3 separate regions of the Homo sapiens genome follow, and all the other regions are linked to region 2. The links are contacts of gene promoters, found by promoter capture Hi-C in blood cells and fetal thymus (Javierre and others, 2016). All regions are on one chromosome and are shown on one strand. Each heading gives the region's core, a stretch centred on a gene start or on the middle of the fragment in contact. The rest is flanking DNA. Distances are from core to core; before and after follow the strand shown.

Region 1 (2,700 bases), core at 173-2,672, 440 kb after region 2:
TCTGCAGATGAATGAGTGACTGTAATTTACAAGGAGAAAATACAGGGTGCCTTGGGAACTTATCATAGAAACACGCCACTCAGTTTGTGGTGTCTAGAAGACTTTCTTGTCTTGTGGTGTCATAAAACTTTTTGTCTTGTCTTGTGGTGTCAGAAGACTTTCTTGGGGAAGCTGCGTTTGAGCGGAAAGCTTGGGAGTGACTAGGAAAGGCAGGGTGTTCCAAGCAGGGGGCCAGCCATGCAATGCCCTGAGCAGAAGCAAATTCCATGTAGGCTATGCCCTGAAAAGCCTGCACCACTGCATCAGAGAGCAAGGGACAGAGTGGCCAGGATGAGGCCTCAGAGGAGGAAGAGTAGGCACAGCCTGTGGGCCAAGTCAAGATTTAGGGCTTTATTCTGGGTGTCAAAAGTAAAGGGTTTTCCCATCATTCTGAGCAAACTATTGCAAGGGCAGAAAACCAAACACCGCATGTTCTCACTCATAGGTGGGAATTGAACAATGAGAACACTTAGACACAGGGTGGGGAACATCACACACCAGGGCCTGTCGTGGGGTGGGGGTAGAGGGGAGGGATAGCATTAGGAGATATACCTAATGTAAATGAAGAGTTAACGAGTTAACGGGTGCAGCACACCAACATGGCACATGTATACATATGTAACAAACCTGCATGTTGTGCACATGTACCCTAGAACTTAAAGTATAATAAAAAATAAAGAAAGAAAAGAAAAAAATAAAATAAAAATAAAGGGTTTTCCATATAAGGAAGTAACTGAATCTGATTCATATTTTTGAGAATGCACTCTGATTTTGGGGGCAGTGAACTATTCTGTATGGTACTGTAATGGTGGCTACATGGCCCCCACAGAATGTCCACACTAAGAGTTAACTCTAATGTGAACTATGGACTGTGGGTAATAATGATGTGTCAATGTAGGTTCATCAATCGTAACAAATGTATCCCTCTGAGGTGGGATGTTGATGATGTTGTAACAAATGTAGCCCTCTGGTGTGGGATGCAGGTGTAGGGGCAGAATGTGTATGAGAACCCTCTACCTCCTGCTCGATTTTGCTATGAACCTAAAATTGCTCTTTTTTTCTTTTTTTTTTTTTTTTTTTTTTTTGAGACGGAGTCTTTCTCTGTCGCCCAGGCTGGAGTGCAGTGGCATGATCTCAGTTCACTGCAAGCTCTGCCTCCTGGGTTCACACCATTCTCCTGCCTCAGCCTCTCGAGTAGCTGGGACTACAGGCGCCTGCCACCACACCCAGATAATTTTTTTGTATTTTTTAGTAGAGACGGGGTTTCACCATGTTAGCCAGGATGGTCTCGATCTCCTGACCTCGTGATCCACCCGCCTCAGCCTCCCAAAGTGCTGGGATTACAGGCATGAGCCACAGCGCCTAGCTAAAACTGTTCTTAAAAAATAAGTCTACTAAAAAAAAGTGCACTCTGGCAAGGGGCCCAAGTGAACCTTCTGTGATATAGGAAATGTTCTACATTACAGGTGTGAACATAAGTTAAAACTCATCAGGCGCCGGGCACGGTGGCTCACGCCTGTAATCCCAGCACTTTGGGAGGCTGAGGCGGGTGGATCACCTGAGGTCGGGAGTTGCCTGACCAACACGGAGAAACCCCGTCTCTACTAAAAATACAAAATTAGCCCGGCGTGGTGGCGCATGCCTGTAGTCCCAGCTACTCAGGAGGCTGAGGCGGGAGAATCGCTTGAACCTGGGCAGCGGAGGTTGCAGTGAGCCGAGATCGTGCCATTGCACTTCAGCCTGGGCAACAAGAGTGAAACTCCATCTCAAAAAAAATAAATAAAAATAAAAATAAAAAAACTCATCAGGTTGTACATTCCCCATTAAAGCACATTTTGCATTTTATTGTATGTACAATATGCCTCAGCAAGGAGGAAACAAAGGGACTTGTGATTGGCCAAGGCTGGCCCATTGTGAACCCTGTGTGCCTGGACAGAGGTCCTGTGATCTTAGGAGGAACAGTTCCTGAAAAGAAGTGGGGCGTGGCAGGAGTGGAGGTGGGGGAGCTTTGCATTACTAGAAGAAGGGGGAAGGGGTCCTGGCTAGACAAAGCAACTATGCCCACCACAATGTGTAAAAGGGCAGCGCGGAGAGTGAACTAGGGGGCCACCCACCATGCTGGTATCCTTCCCTGCCTTCCTTTCCTTGCAGTGGTGCTTCCTCTTCCTTTCCCAACAGGTAGAATCTATGATATATAATTACGTAGGGACATGCATGCACACATTTCTATCTATCCTTCATGAAGGGTATGTACTGTCCGCATTGTCACATGCCTTGCTTTAACATTCACTCCTCCATTCCCACCACCTTACACTCCAGTCAGCCTGGCCCTCGGTCCTTAGCCCACCTTCAGATCCCCCTACTACAGGGGAGCTCCTAGACCACCTTAGCCCAGATCAGCGGGCAGGCAGAGCAAAACCTTGGAATTAAAATATCTTCAGAAGAGTCCACAAATGCTTGGAAGACTCATCATTTTAATCCTGGGTGGTTGGGTCGGGAAAGGCAGGGTGGAGGGAAGTGGGGGATAATGGCTGGCTCATCTGGAATAGTCAAACAGGAACCTTCTTCTACACATGTAAATTTTCTAAAAAACTAAAATTCAGTCCCATAGGAAATCAAGCTTTAAAAACAAAAAGTCTACTAAAATTTAAATGTGCACAC
Region 2 (2,700 bases), core at 191-2,690:
TCCCCATGGTGCTGGGCTACTACAGTGCATGTAGAGAGGCTCAGGCTGAGCTCTGCTCCCCCAACTCCTTCTCCTTTGCACCCCACCAGTCTCACTAGAGAAATTGTCCCACGGACCACTGAGGTGTTCTCGCACTGTAAGCTATTGATCATCAGTGAGTTTCAACATTTCTTCTTTTCTTTTTCCAAGCACAATCACAAATCTAGTTTAAAAATACTAATTACCTGATATATTGTACACAGTTTTTTTTACCGAGAGGATCTTAGTTAGGAGGGATATTAGATGTTGACTCATGATTACATTTCAGTCTACTTTCCCATTTAGTGTCTCCTCTCAAATATTCTGATGTTATGGTCATTCTCTGTTTTTAAAATTAATTAGCATTTATCCATGTTTTACAGTTGTTTCTATGTCCCTTTTTTTCTTAATCCAGCCAGATTATCTTTTCCTTTTCTTTCTAAATCTTTTTCCTCTTACCCAGACCCCAGAGTGTAATTTACCAGCCCATATACTCCTGGCATTTGCTTTGTAATCTCTTAAACACTTCAGAGGGGAGAATTAACCTACTCCACTCTCTGATGGCCTCATCTGTGCTTCAGGGTTATGAAAAGTTATGGCTCTCCCTAGGCAGGAGTGAGGGCCACTCCAGATATCCCATGGGGGAGTGATGCCCATCTGTGCTGCCTCCTGTGCACCGAGAGCCACCTGCACTCTCTGCAGAGCTGGGCTGAGTCCCCTTCTCCCTCCCTCCTAGGGTCTCTCCGGCAGGAAGGTGTTGCTCTTCTGGTCTGGGGACCCTGAAGTGCCCGATGGAGGGCATGGCACTGGCTCACCTTGTCGATGAAGGAGGCAAACTTGTTGTTGAGGGTCTTGATCTGCTCACGCTCCTCGGCCCGCACCCGCTGGATGGCGGGGTCAATTTGCAGGTTGAGGGGAGTCAGGAGACTCTGGTTGACAGTGACCTCTTGGATGCCTCCAGGGGGGCACACAGGGAAGCCAGGGCCCCCAAAGCCACCAGCAAGGCCGGCTCCACCACCCAGACCAAAGCCAATGCCGGCTCCACCACCGAAACCAAATCCACTCCCGGCGCCACCAAAGCCATAGCTGCCTCCGGCTCTGCTGCCATAGCCGCCACTGATGGCACAGCTGCCCCCTCCAATGGAGATCCTCTTGGAGCCCCCCAGGCCATACAGACTGCGGCTGCCAAAGCCAGCTCCTCCACATGCGCCACCCAGGCCACCACTGCCCCTGGAGCGGGACACGGAGATGCTGCTGAAGCCAGAGCGGCTGACCCCAGGGAGCCTGGCTGAGTTGGCACTGAAACCCCGGCGGCTGCTGCTGTGGCTCCTGATGGTGGTGGATGTGCTGGCCATGGTTCCAGGAGATGAGAGGGCTTAGGAGAGTGTGAGAGGCTGGAGGCGAGAGGGAGGAGAAGCAGGACGAGGAATCGGACTCCAGTAGCAGCTTATATATGGAGAGCATGGGCTGGGCCCAGTCCTGGAAGGTGAGCTTGCAGGTTGGGAAGGGCTGGGCTTTACAAATAGTGAGATCACACCTGCATTATTACAAAAGTTATGAAATACCGAGATTGCATTTTTCGCTTCCTTTAGTCAGGCAAAATGTTCCTGCCTCCAGCTTTGACTTGAGATCTCAGCACAATAAGAGTATTCTCAATTCATGAAGTTGGAATTAGTCACTGTCTTCAGCAAAGGTTCTGCATGCTAGGCTGTTTATCGACATGCCCTGAGTGCCCTCCTCTTCCCAGTCTGACTTTCTTCCAGCCTTGCTGTTGGAGATCACAGGCACTGTATTGTGAATTCCTTAACAGAAATATTACAATTTCCCCATAATTGTTTCACCTTTTAGGTGCAATTTTAAACAGGTAGAGAAGCAGAACACTGCAATGGGCCTGTATATACCTGTCACCTGCTTCCATGATGATCATCTCATGGCCAGCCTGATTTCTTTCATACTTCAACCCTATTTCCTCTTCCATTCTAGATTGTTTGAAAGGAAATTCCAGAAGTCATATTATGTCTTCAATCAATAATTCAATATTAATATCTAAATAATAGGTCCTTTAAAAAATCAAAACACTATTTTTATATCTTAAAAATTTACATACTAATTAAAATGAACAAGTGTCTATTTAGTCTTCAAGCAGTCCTATTTTTGATATATATTTCTTATATTTTGGTGTCCCAATCAGAGTCAAAATAAGCTCTATAAACGTTGTATTTGAGTGATATATCCTTTAAATCATTGAAATTTAAAAATCTCCCTTCATTTCTTACTTTTATTTGTTAAATAAAACAGGTTAACTGTTCATTGTACTTTTTCATTCTTGGGATTTTTCTAATTGCATACCCCTATTGTTTCCTTTAATATGAGACTCTAACCTTCATATTTCATATTAAAATTAGAAGCTTATTAAGATTCTGTCTATATTTAAACATTCTAGAAGTAAATGTAGTAGATTGCCCATTTAAATTTTGAATAGTACTATTTGCACAATTATTTACATGTTTACAAATTGAATACATGATACATGTTTTAAAAAATTTTTTGTAAAACATGCTAAACAACAAAATAATATAGCTCAAGGCCATTCCCCAGTTACCCAATTCCTATCTATGGAGGAAGTAATGTTAGCAGTTCCTTGTGTATCCTTGTATCTTTACTTGGATATTTTCCTGTGCT
Region 3 (2,700 bases), core at 51-2,550, 340 kb after region 2:
CATGAGAACTGTCCTGGTCTGGAGAAGCTCACCGAGCACTCTTGTCTTCCTGACTAGGCTGAGTAGGAGTGCAAAGTCACTCATTTCTCTGCGCTCCCTTGGGACTAACTAAGGTTCTTATGCTCTTAATCCCTGCTCCAGGTAATCAGCCTCCTCTGCCTGGCACAGCAATATGAGGGGGAAAGGGCTTCCTGGAAAGCCTCAGAGGGCAGCTTGTATTTGAAAAGCCTCCCATTCTTGGTGGACCCTTCGCTGATGGTGGCTGTGGCCCTTGCCTTGGGCTGCCTGCCCTGCCAGCCTGGGCCTCAATGAGGCAATGACTGGAAACTTCAGCAGGGGTTCCCACAAACAGGATGTGTGGTGCTCAGGTCCAAATAGGGGACTGTTTTCTTTCTACACCTCCCCTCACTTGACCATGTAGACAAACTCCTCAACCCTGGATATCTTCCCAGACCCTAGAGTTCCACCTAACTCCTCACCCTCCAGTCTGGCCTATCCAAGAAACATTTAAACACTGTGTCCCAAAGGTCAAATTCAAAGTCCCCAGCCCAGGAAGGGATGACCAGTCAAAGCTTCATTACCTTGTCAATGAAGGAGGCAAACTTGTTGTTGAGGGTCTTGATCTGTTCCCGCTCCTGGGCCTTTACTTGCCCAATCTGGGGGTCGATCTCCACATTGAGGGGCTGCAGGAGACTCTGGTTGATAGTCACTTCCTGAATTCCCCCAGGAAAGCCCCCAGGGCCAAAGCCACCAGGACTGCCCAAGCTGCCAGGCCCACCAAAGCCACCAGACCCACCAAAGCCACCAGGACCACCAAAGCCACCAGCCCCTCCAAAGCCACCAGCCCCTCCAAAGCCACCAGCTCCACCAAAGCCACCTCCCATTCCTCTGCCACCACCAAAGCCACCACCAAAGCCACCTCCATAGCCGCTCCCAAAGCCACCTCCATAGCCACCTGCAAAGGCACAGCTGCTCCGCCCTCCCCCAAAGCCTCCAGCCCGGGAGCCGCCAGCTGCCACGCTGATGGAGATGCTCTTGTTGCCGCCCAGGTTGTAGAGGCTGCGACTGCCAAAGCCACCTGCTCCGCTCCGGAAGCCATAGGCCCCTCCGCCAGCTCCCCCAGAGTGGGCCACACAGCTCATCCTGCTGCTGCCGGAGACCACAGCAGAGCGGCCGGAGAAACCCTGGCTCCCGCCACCAGATGTCTTGCTGGCTTGTCTGCTCATGGTAAGGAGCTTGGCGAAGAGAAGAGTGTAAGTTAAGCAGGGACACTGAGAGTCAGAGGAAGAGGGATGGGAAATGAAGACCTGTGCAAAATAAATCCCTTTATATACATTTGAGGAGGTTGTTGGGCTCAAACGAAGGAGAGATAATTAATCCCAAATATTCATGGGCTGGGTTTGCCTCCAAGGCAATAAGTTTGTTCCAGGCTACCAAACACACCTTGAAAATAAGCTGAAATGGTAAAAGTGCTAAGGTGGCAGGCTTACCTGGTGAGGGGGTGGTGCCTGGTGTTGCCCCATGTTTGGGCATGGCCTCCTCCTAGCTCTGTCTGACAGGACCCAGGAGGCACGCTCACCTGCATCAGGTGCTCAGCAGCCATCCCTCTGCCTATTAGCTGCACCTGGGCCCTGCAGAGCGGTGCCCAGCTCTGGAGAGGATAGAGTGGAGGAGGTGTGGGGAGGTTCTGCTTCTCTGAGTAGTGGAGACAGTGGAGCCCACTCACAGCTCTGGGAAAGTATCTTAATGGAAGGAGTGATGCAGGTCTCTCCACAATGACTGAGTGCACAGTATGTGCCCAGCTCTACGCTGGCCTTTGGGATGAAGCGCTGACCTCTCCTTCTCCCTTCTTGGAAAAAAGCCCAGAACTATCACAAATCTGCCTCCTGGGTTCTCCCTGTACCCCAAGCTTTAGTTCAGGAGGTAGTGACCTTTTGGTTTATGACTATCTTTGGAGAAAAAGTCAAGTTAACACCTATGTATGTTGAGCAGACACTGGCAAAATCCAACATGCCTAATGTTTGTTTCTCTTTAAAACTTCCCAGAGAAATTATACACTATTACACATCTTGGGGTTTATCTATGGCTTCCTTTCTTGCTCCCCACATTTTGGCCTTTCTCTGGTTTTAGCTTAAGGCCTAGGGAACAAGAAATTCAAATGTCAAGTCAACAACAAATTCAGCAAATATTTACAGACTGCCAAATGTGTGCCAGGCCCTTTGCAAAACTCTGGAGACCCAGTCATGGACAAGACACACAGGGCCCCTGTGGGACCATTTTCTGTTTGAGAGATGTGCTCCTGAGAGTCGCCCATGCCCCCTCACAAACCCCAGAAAGCCAGATCTGGCAGAGCCGGCAGCACTATGGAATATGTCTGACTCCGAAAGCCTGAAACTCTCCCTGTCTGGGGTTGTTCAGAGGCTTATGACTGGGCTTGGTTTGTCCAAAAGAAAGCCATCCTGCACACTCTGGAGCTGGCCAAGTTAGCTGCTTATCTCTCCAGGACAGGCCTTTTTTGTTCTGTCTGCTGCACATTGGGCCCTTCTAAGGGTGTGGTCTGTATGGCCCTGGCAGGAGCCTCCTTAGAATTGGGGGAAAGGATAGAGACTTCTTCAACACCCACTGGGTAGGGCTGGGAGTGGCCCAAGTGCAAAGGAAGTACAATTTTCTTCAGTGGCCTGGTTCTTCCATTTTATCCTT

The links. Contacts are between HindIII fragments. The CHiCAGO score rates a contact against its expected background, and 5 or more counts as called.
Region 1: a contact is called between a fragment that was not itself captured here and the fragment with the promoter of KRT6B in region 2, in 1 of 17 cell types (M0 macrophages). The highest score is 5.1, in M0 macrophages.
Region 3: a contact is called between the fragment with the promoter of KRT3 here and the fragment with the promoter of KRT6B in region 2, in 2 of 17 cell types (endothelial precursors and total CD8 T cells). The highest score is 6.4, in endothelial precursors.

What each region holds. Positions count from the first base shown.
Region 1 is chr12:52,890,342-52,893,041 of GRCh38, forward strand. No RefSeq gene overlaps it. Among named protein-coding and RNA genes, the nearest start is that of MIR9898, 7.3 kb to the right of the region's middle. The HindIII fragment of the contact is 2,470 bases long and covers 188-2,657 here.
Region 2 is chr12:52,450,706-52,453,405 of GRCh38, forward strand. KRT6B (keratin 6B) reads right to left here and starts at 1,441. Exons shown (of 9, transcript NM_005555.4): 1 at 834-1,441. The coding sequence starts at 1,373. The HindIII fragment of the contact is 8,192 bases long and covers 1-2,424 here.
Region 3 is chr12:52,794,817-52,797,516 of GRCh38, forward strand. It overlaps KRT3 (keratin 3), which reads right to left and starts at 1,301. Exons shown (of 9, transcript NM_057088.3): 1 at 582-1,301. The coding sequence starts at 1,226. The HindIII fragment of the contact is 1,337 bases long and covers 571-1,907 here.